Regions from separate parts of the Homo sapiens genome. Here region 2 is linked to region 1. Evidence: promoter capture Hi-C in 16 types of primary human blood cells and fetal thymus (Javierre and others, 2016). All regions are on one chromosome and are shown on one strand. The core of a region is centred on a gene start or on the middle of the fragment in contact, and the rest is flanking DNA. Distances in the headings are between cores, read along the strand shown. Region 1 holds the start of CALR3 (calreticulin 3). Region 2 overlaps SMIM7 (small integral membrane protein 7).

Region 1 (4,697 bases), core at 609-3,108:
GCCTTGGCCTCCCAACATGCTGGGATTACAGGCGTGAGCCACCGTGCCTGACCATATTTTTCTTTTTTTTTGAGATGGAGTCTCACTCTGTCACTGAGGCTGGAGTGCAGGGGCATGATCTCTGCTCACTGCAACCTCTGCCTCCCGGGTTCAAGTGATTCTTCTGCCTCAGCCTCCCGAGTAGCTGGGACTACAGGCATGAGCCACCACACCCAGCTAATTTTTGTATTTTTAGTAGAGACAGGGTGTCACCGTATTGGCCAGACTGGTTTTGAACTCCTGACCTCATGATCCGCTCGCCTAAGGCCTCCCAAAGTGCTGGGATTACAGGCATGAGCCACCGCGCCTGGCCTATTTTTCTTTTTAATACGAAAATTAAAATGAGAAAAAGTACCCACTAACCTTTTCCTTCTGAGGGGCATGGCCCTTGATCCTCAAATGCACTTGACTAGTGTCTATTAAGAGGGGCAATTTTGGTAATGCCTACTAATAACACATTCATATAAATATAATCCAAAGAAGGTTAAATACCATTGCATATTTGACAGTGCTTCAAGTATGATTTTATTATACCAAATAAGCTGAATATGTCTCCTTGGACTTCAGGGGACCTAATACCAATAAAAGTAATAATAATGATAATAGGCCAAGCACCATGGCTCACGCCTATAATCCCAGCACTTTAGGAGGCCGAGGCAGGTGGATTACTTAAGGCCAGGAGTTTGAGTCCAGCCTGGGCAATGTGGTGAAACTCTGTCTCTAAAAAAATTAGCAGGGCATGGTGGCGCACGCTTGTAATCGCAGCTCCTCAGAAGCCTGAAGCAAGAGAATCACTTGAACCCGGGAGACGGAGGTTTGAGTGAGCCAAGATCGTGCCACTGCACTCTAGCCTAGGCGACAGAGCGAGACTCCTACTACCAAAAAAAAAAAAAAAAAAAAAAAGGAATCTTTGGCAATAAAGAAAGGAGAGAGGAGGCTGGATGTTGTGGCTCATGCCTGTAATCCCAGCACTTTGGGAGGCCAAGGTGGGTGGATCATGAGGTCAGGAGTTCGAGACCAGCCTGGCCAACGTGGACCCTGTCTCTACTAAAAGTACAAAAATTAGCCGGTCATGGTGGCGCGCGCCTGTAGTCTCAGCTACTCGGGAGGCTGAGGCAGGAGAATTGCTTGAACCCGGGAGGTGGAAGTTGCAGTGAGCCGAAATCGCGCCACTGCACTCCAGCCTGGGCAACAGAGCAAGGCTCCGTCTCAAAAAAAAAAAAAAAAAAAAAGGAGAGAAGAAACAAAAAAACAAGGAAAGGAGCCCCTTAAGTTCTACCTTTGCCTTAATGTCTTCATCTGTAAAACGGGAATAAAAGCGTTTTGGCTGTGCCACAACTACCTAGAGAGGTTGCTATGGAAATGTAACATTAGGCTCAATTTGGTCCTGATTCTACACTAACCTTTATCTTTCTCTTTATGACCATAAAACTTGCCCGACGAAAGTCTAAAATGCCCAAATCGGGAGTCATTGGTGGACTGCAACCATCGGTTTCTCCAATGCTCTGTGGGGAAGGGGAAATAACACCGGTTAGAGGTGATAATGGTTAATTTGGGCTAAGGGAAGGGTGAAGGGGACCCTCGAGGATTCGAGGGTTCGCTGCCGTGGACCCCGTGGCGACTCTGGCCAGCCTTAGGGGGCGGAGATGGGGGAGCTTACACCTCCGCCACCACGGGCGTGGCCCCTTCACCTCCGTCTAGAAATTCCTCTTGGAAATAGACGGTAGCCAGCGCCACTCGCAGCATGCATATGGCCCAGAGCTGGACCAAAGCCCGGGCCATGGGGGTGTGCACTGCGCTTCCGGTCGCCGCCACCCCTTAGCTCCCAGCTCTCTCTGCGGCTCTTCAGGCGCGTCCCGAAACTACAACTCCCGTCACAACTCGCGATTATGACCTGAGGGTCCCATTGGTCGCTGCGGCGCGGGGCACGTTGGGCCCGCCCCGGAACTACCGCTCCCATGACACCCCGCGATTGTGATTCGGGGCGCCATTGGTCTGCGGGGCGCGGTGCTTCCCGGGAGATGTAGTCTCTTCTGCTCTGGCTCTGTTGCCCAGGGCAACCGCTCCTTCAGGCGTGAATGTGGCGGCTGCCTCTGCGAATGGACGGCGTGGGAAGAGGTCGGCAGGGCTGGTGGGGAGGTGACCTAGCTGGGCGTCCGGGCTCGCGAGGGGGATACGGGGAAATGGGGCCTTCTCCGGGGCTGAGCTGGTTGGGCCGCTGCAGGATGGTCCCGCGCCTCAGTTTCCCTGTCTGGGGTCTATTGGAGCATGGTCCTGCGCGGGTCGCTTCATAGCTGGGGAGAAGAGCAGGATGGTCTCAGGGGCGCCAGGGTTTTCAAGTTTTGGTTTGTTGATTTGTAACAACTTTATTGAGCCTTCATTTACATACCATAGTGTTCGCCACTTTTAAGCTGACGACTCCGTTATTTTTAGTAAATCTACAAAGTTGTGAAGCCGTCGCCACCATCCAGCTCATCCAGCTTTAGAACTTTGCGTCAGGCCGGGCGCGGTGATTCACGCCTGGAATCCCAGCACTTTGGGAGGCAGAGGCGGGAGGATCACTTGAGGCCAGGAGATCCAGACCAGCCTGGGCAACCTGGCGAGACCCCATCTCTAAAAAAGATAAAAATAAAAAATTAGCCAGGTGTAGTGGCACGCGCCTGTAGTCCCAGCTACTCAGGATGTTGAGGCAGGAGGGAGGATTGCTTGTGTCCAGGAGGTCAAGGGCTGCTGTGAGCTGTGATCATGCCACTGCACTCCGGCTAATTTTTTGTATTTTTAGTAGAGATGGGGTTTCACCATGTTTGCCACGCTGGTCTCGAACTCCTGACCTCACGTAATCTGCCAGCCTTGGCCTCCCAAAGTGCTGGGATTATAGGCGTGAGTCACAGCACCGGCCCGATCTGCTTTCTGAGTTTATTGGTTTGCCTTTTCTTGACAGTTCTTACAAATGAAATGATAGGGTGTGTGGAGTTTAGTGTCTGGCTACTTTCTTTTTTCTTTCCTTTTTTTTTTTTTTTTGAGACAGATTCTCGCTCTGTTACTTAGGCTGAAGTGCAATGGTGCGATCTCGGCTCACTGCGAACTCCGCCTCCCAGGTTCAAGCAATTCTCCTGTCTCAGCGTCCTGAGTATTTGGGATTACAGGCGCATGACACCACGCCCCGCTAATTTTTGTATTGTTAGTAGAGACGGGGTTTTACCATGTGTGTCAGGCTGGTCTCGATCTCCTGACCTCGTGATCCGCCCGCCTTAGCCTCCCAAAGTGCTGGGATTACAGGCGTGAGCCACTGCGCCCGGCTTGGCTACTTTCCCTTAGCGTGATGTATTTGAGATTCCTGCGTGCTGTTATATTAGTATTTGTTTTTTAAATTGCTGAACTGTATTACACTGTATGGATGGACCATAGTTTGTAATCCATTCACTAATTAATGGATAGTTACATTGTTTTCCGTTTTAGTCTACTAGGAGTAATAAATATTATGGGGCCAGGTATGATGATGTGGGATTGTAATCTCAGCATTTTGGGAGGCTGAGGCTGCGGATCTCTAGAACCCCAGGAATCTGAGAACAGCCTGGGCAACACAGTGAGACCTTGTTTCTACAAAAAGTTAGCTAGGCATGGCAATGTGTGTCTGTAGTCCCAGCTACCCAGGAAGCTGAGGTGGGAGGATCGCGTGACCCCGGGAGGTCGAGGCTGTAGTGAGCCATGATAACACCACTGCACTCAGCCTGGGCAACAGAGTGAGAGCCTGTCTCAAAACAAAACAAAACTATTACGAACATTTGCATACATTTGCATTTCTCTTGGGCCACATGGGAGTGGAATCCCTGGATCACATGGTAACTCTATGTCTAACCTTTTGAGGAACCAACTGTTTTCCACATTGAGGACTACATAATTTTACAATTCCCCCAACAACATATGAGGGTTCCAATTTCTTTATTTTTTTTAGAGATAGGGTCTTGCCCTATCATCCGGGCTGGAGTCCAGTGGCACGATCATAGCTCACTGCAGCCTCAAACTCCTGGGCTCAAGCAATCCTCCCACCTCAGCCTCCCGAGTAACTGGGACTACAGGTGTGTGCCATCAGACCCAGCTAATTTTTTCATTTTTTGTAGAGATGGAGTCTCCCTATGTTGCCCAGGCTGGTCTCGAACTCATGGGTTCAAACAGTCCTCCCATCCTGGCCTCCCACAGTGCTGGGATTACAGGTGTGAGCCACTGTGGGCTTCAATCTGTTCACTTCCTCACTGACACTTGTTACGTGTATTTTTGATTATAGCCATGCTAGGGGATGTGAAGTAGTAGCTCCTCATGGTTTTTTTCTTTTTTTTTTTTGAGACGGAGTCTCTCTCTTTTGCCCAGGCTGGAGTGCAATGGCGCGATCTCGGTTCACTGCAAGCTCTGCCTCCTGGGTTCATGCCATTCTCCTGCCTCGGCCTCCTGAGTAGCTGGGACTACAGGCGCCCACCACCGCGCCCGGCTAATTTTTTGTGTTTTTAGTAGAGACGGGGTTTCACTGTGTTAGCCAGGATGGTCTCTATCTCCTGACCTCATGATCCGCCCACCTCGGCCTCCCAAAGTGCTGGGATTACAGGCGTGAGCCACCACGCCTAGTCTGTTACTGGCATTTAAATGTTACTGAGCACTTTTTC
Region 2 (4,697 bases), core at 705-3,204, 150 kb after region 1:
AATGCCACAATAGAAGCCAATGAAGATCACAACACTGGTGCCAGGGGCAGCCCTGATCACAGTGGACAAAATATAATCCAAGTCCAGCAACAAGGTGGCTAAGGACCTATTTACTGACACTGCACCGTAAGTAAAAATGAGAACTGTAACACCTCCTAGCAACAAAGCAAGTGTAAAGAAAATGATGCTGAAATGAACACAGCAGAACTCATCCTTCCTTATCCACTCTCAAAACATACATACAGGAATATGGAAAATGCTGCATGGGGATGGTGAAGACAGGAAAAGGTTTACCAGGCTGGAAATTGTTTGCGTTTTTTTTTTTTTTTTTTTTTTTTGAGATGTTTTGCTCGTCGCCTAGGCTGGAGTGCAATGGCGCGATCTCGGCTCGCTGCAACCTCCGCCTCCCTGGTTCAAGTGATTATCCTGCCTCAGCCTCCTGAGTAGCTGGGATTACAGGCGCACGCCACCACACCTGGCTAATTTTTGTATTTTTTAGTAGAGACGGGGTTTTGTCATGTTGGCCAGGTTGGTCTCGAACTCCTGACCACAGGTGACCTGCCCACTTTGGCCTCCCAAAATGCTGGGATTGCAGGGTGTGAGCCTCTCACTGCACTCAGTCTGTTTGTAACTTTTTTTTTTTTTTCCGAGACAGAAGATCTTGCTCTGTCACCCAGGCTGGAGTGCACTGGCACGATCTCAGCTCACTGCAACCTCCACCTCCTGGGTTTTTAAGCAATTCTCTGCCTCAGCCTCCTGAGTAGCTGGGATTACAGGGGGCATGCCACCACACCCAGCTAATTTTTGCATTTTTAGTAGAGACGGGGTTTCACCATCTTGGCCAGGCTGTTCTTGAACTCCTGACCTCGTGATCCACCTGCCTCGGCCTCCCAAAGTGCTGGGAGCCACCGCGCTGGCCTCTGTTTGCAATTCGTAAAAATGCTGTCATCAGCCTTTAATGGTGTGTGTGCAGACTGCACAAAGAAAAGTGGATGAGAAGACAGAAAACACACACGGTGATGATACCCACAGCAACAGGTGCTCTCAGGCACTCAGCCGCATTCGAGTTCATTGAAACTTACAACAACCTTAGGCACACACTACTTGCAGGCCGATTTTAGAGATGTGGAAACTGAGGCTTGGAGAGGAGAAAGCAATTAGCCAAGGTCCCTCTCAGAATGAGCTGAGATGGGATTTGTACTCACACCTAACTGACCCAGAACATTAGTGCTTAAACACTGTGAGACACTAGGCACCCAAACTTCAAACTCTGATAACCTCTGGTGCCAGTAAAGTTCTTGAAAAGCTTCCTTAAGAGACACAACCATGAGATTCCATTTTTAAAATGTACAGCAGCCACCAACCAGCATCTGAAAAAGCCACGCTGCTATTATTAACAATGAGACAACAGTTCTCTGGAGAAAAAGAGGACTATTGAAACAAAACCTCAATGACAGGATTCTCTTCTGAGAGCACGATTCATCCCCATAATGGACAAATGCCTCGCCTCATTGAGACCTCCGCGCCAGTCTGAATAAGGCAGGAAGGTTTCTTCACACCATTCATCTGGCCTGTGAGGGACCCAGCCAAGATCTTGGCGTGCCTGTTCTGACAGCGACACCGGCCTCAGCAAAGCCAGACCCAGCAGCTCCGATCTCTGCTACTTACAGACCTTGGGGTGATGCTTGGCTGAGATTTGGCAAGGAAATGAATTGCAGAAGTGATCAAGGAGAATTCCACAACCTGAGAGGCAGCAAAAGTGGACTTGACCCTGGTCTAGCAAGAGCCCACCATTAGCAATGACTCTTTCAATACTTTCAGGAGCAGCTCCAGTCAAAATTCCACTTACTCAATTCTTTTTTTTTTTTTTTTTTTGAGACAGAATCTCATTGTCTCACCCAGGCTGAAGTGCAGTGGCTCAATCTCAGCTCACTGCAACCTCCGCCTCCCAGATTTAAGCAATTCTTGTGCCTCAGCCACCCGAGTAGCTGGGATTATAGGCGTGTGCCACCATATCTGGCTAATTTTTCTATTTTTAGTAGAGATGCGATTTCACCATGTTGGCCAGGCTAGTTTCGAACTCCTGACCTCAAGTGATCCGCCTACCTCGGCCTCCCAAAGTGCTGGGATTACAGGTATGAGCCACTGCGCGCAGCCCCACTTGCCCAATTCTTGACCATCATTTATTGAGCTAAATCCAAAAAGGAAACTCTACCACTGACTCTTTTCTTTCTCATGGCCTCCAAAATGAATCCTAGGTTTTTCCAGCAGGGTAAATTCAAAAGGACTCAGGTTGGAAATTGACTTCTTGGTTAAAAAAAAAAAAAAAGTATAAACAAAAGGTCCTTTTTAGAAATGAGGTTTATTTTCAAGGCTACTCAGTCCTAAAAGCCTGCATATTTACTTTTTTTCCTTCCTCCAGGTTTACCTCCAAGTCAGGATTTCAAAAACCACCAACATTCAGGCTCATTCTTATTGGTATAAACAAACAAACAAAAAAACCAGACAACAAAAAACTCAACAAGCAAATCACACAGTTGTGGGATTCAGCGCCAACCCCGGGCGTTTCATTTTGGCAACAAAACCAGGATTCCCTTTCAAAGAAGCTTCTGGAAAATGCTGTATTTCCTAGATGAAGGCCCCTGGTTTTTCAACCTCAAAATCACCTACTCAAAAAGCAGACTCAGAAACCCAAGGTTTTAGAACATGGTCCCAATGTACCACATCATAAAATCACTCTCATTCCTGCAACTGTACAATGAATGGCTCCCAAAGTCATTTTATTTAACAAAGGGGTCAAGGCAGAGGAAAGTTTCCCTTAATATCCCCACAACTGCTCCACATGTCTTCTGTGGAAACACTTCACCAGGAACTAGCTCAACACTCTTGCTAACAATTTAGTGTCTATACAGGAAGGCTGGTGTCTCTGTTACAGGTGGCCCGTTCCTTAAAGCCTTTAGGGTTAATCGCAGCTGCACTGAGTGGCCAAGCAGACCCTGTTGGGATGTGAAAGCAGTTTGTTAACAGGGCCCCTGGCCGGGCCCAGAGGCTGTCAGACTCAGCAAGTAACACTGAATGTCCAAAAATACGGCTGTGTTAAACTAACAAGCCAATCCTTCTGCTCAGATCTCTGGATAGAAATGATTTTTCTTTTATCTATGGGGAATGCAATTTCATCACAGCCCCTTACATAAACGCTCCTGAAACCCTTTCAGTAGACAGCATTTCAATTCAGAGACCAAAGTGAAACTATCTTTGAAAACAGGGACGTGGCTGGGAAACCATGCACACCTCGGCGAACACTTTTCCACCCACCACGAGCTTGGACTTTCTGGGAAGGTTGTCGGTTTTCTGGTCAAAAACATTCTTGAAGTCATCAGGAATGGAGGAATGGAGACTCGGCATCCCGGGAAAGTGAGTTCCTGGTTTCATCGCTGGGATTCAAGAGCCGAACAGCCTGGAGAAGTCAGAGGGCAGAAATGTCTGTGAGGATAGGAGGTGACTGTTCTAAAAATATTGTCAGCGATTATTTTACATGACTATTACCTATTACTTAGATGATTTTACATGATTGTCTGATTTTTTAAAGTAACCTGTGATCCACCTGTGAATATAATTAACAATACTGAACTACACAGTTAAAAGAAGAATATACTCTTTTTTTTTTTTTAGACAGAGTCTGGCTCTGCCGCCCAGGCTGGAGTACAGTGGTGCGATCTCAGCTCGCTGCAACCTCTGCATCCGAGATTCAAGCGATTCTCCTGCCTCAACCTGCTGAGTAGCTGCAATTACAGGCGCCTGCCACCAAGCCAGATTAATTTTTGTATTTTTAGTAGAAATGGGGTTTCACCATGTTGGCTGGGCTGGTTTCGAACTCCTGACCTCAAGTGATCCACCCGCCTCAGCCTCCCAAAGTGCTGGGATTACAGGCGTGAGCCACTCCGCACAGCCAACACCACCACCCTATAAGGGAAAGCGGTACAGCTGTTAAACAAAAGATATATACAGGAACTTTCGGTATTATCTTTGCAACATTTCCACAAATCTAAACTCATTCCAAAATAAAAAGGTTATCTGAAAAAAATAAGAGTGCAGAAACAGCTGGATTTCCACATGCAAAAGAATAAAGTTGGACCCCTGCTTTATGTCATATAAAAAAATTCACTCAAAATAGGTCACAGACCTAACTATCCTCCAGAATCCAAACTACAAAACTCTTGGAAGAAAACTTACGTGTACATCTTTGTAACCTTGGGTTACACAATGATTTCTTACTATAATACCCAAAGCACAAGTGACAAAAAGACAAAAACATAAACTCAACTTCATCACAGTTAAAAACTTTTTTTTTTTTGAGATGGACTCTCACTCTGTTGCTCAGGGTGGAGTGCCGTGGGGCGATCTCGGCTCACTACAACCTCTGACTCCTGGGTTCAAGCGATTCTCATGCCTCAGCCTCCCGAGTAGCTGGGATTACAGGCACCCGCCACCATGCCTGGCTAATTTTTGTACTTCTAGTAGAGACGGTGTTTCACCATGTTGGTCAGGCCGGTCTCAAACTCCTGACCTCAAGTGATCCAACCGCCTCAGCCTCCCAAAGTGCTGGGTTTACAGGCATGAGCCACCATGCCTGGCCATTCACAATAAAAAACTTTTGTGCTTAAAATGACACCATCAAGAAAGTGAAAAGACAACAT

Evidence for each region. Contacts are between HindIII fragments. The CHiCAGO score rates a contact against its expected background, and 5 or more counts as called.
Region 2: a contact is called between a fragment that was not itself captured here and the fragment with the promoter of CALR3 in region 1, in 5 of 17 cell types (M1 macrophages, M2 macrophages, erythroblasts and 2 more). The highest score is 6.1, in M1 macrophages.

The regions. Positions count from the first base shown.
Region 1 is chr19:16,494,309-16,499,005 of GRCh38, forward strand. It overlaps CALR3 (calreticulin 3), which reads right to left and starts at 1,859. Exons shown (of 9, transcript NM_145046.5): 1 at 1,731-1,859; 2 at 1,443-1,544. The coding sequence starts at 1,821. It overlaps C19orf44 (chromosome 19 open reading frame 44), which reads left to right and starts at 2,086. Exons shown (of 9, transcript NM_032207.4): 1 at 2,086-2,157. RefSeq lists enhancers at 1,123-1,623, 1,624-2,124, 1,759-2,188. The HindIII fragment of the contact is 8,057 bases long and covers 1-4,697 here.
Region 2 is chr19:16,643,805-16,648,501 of GRCh38, forward strand. SMIM7 (small integral membrane protein 7) reads right to left here. Exons shown (of 5, transcript NM_024104.4): 5 at 2,344-3,457. The coding sequence ends at 3,442. Among named protein-coding and RNA genes, the nearest start is that of SMIM7, 14 kb to the right of the region's middle. The HindIII fragment of the contact is 1,300 bases long and covers 1,305-2,604 here.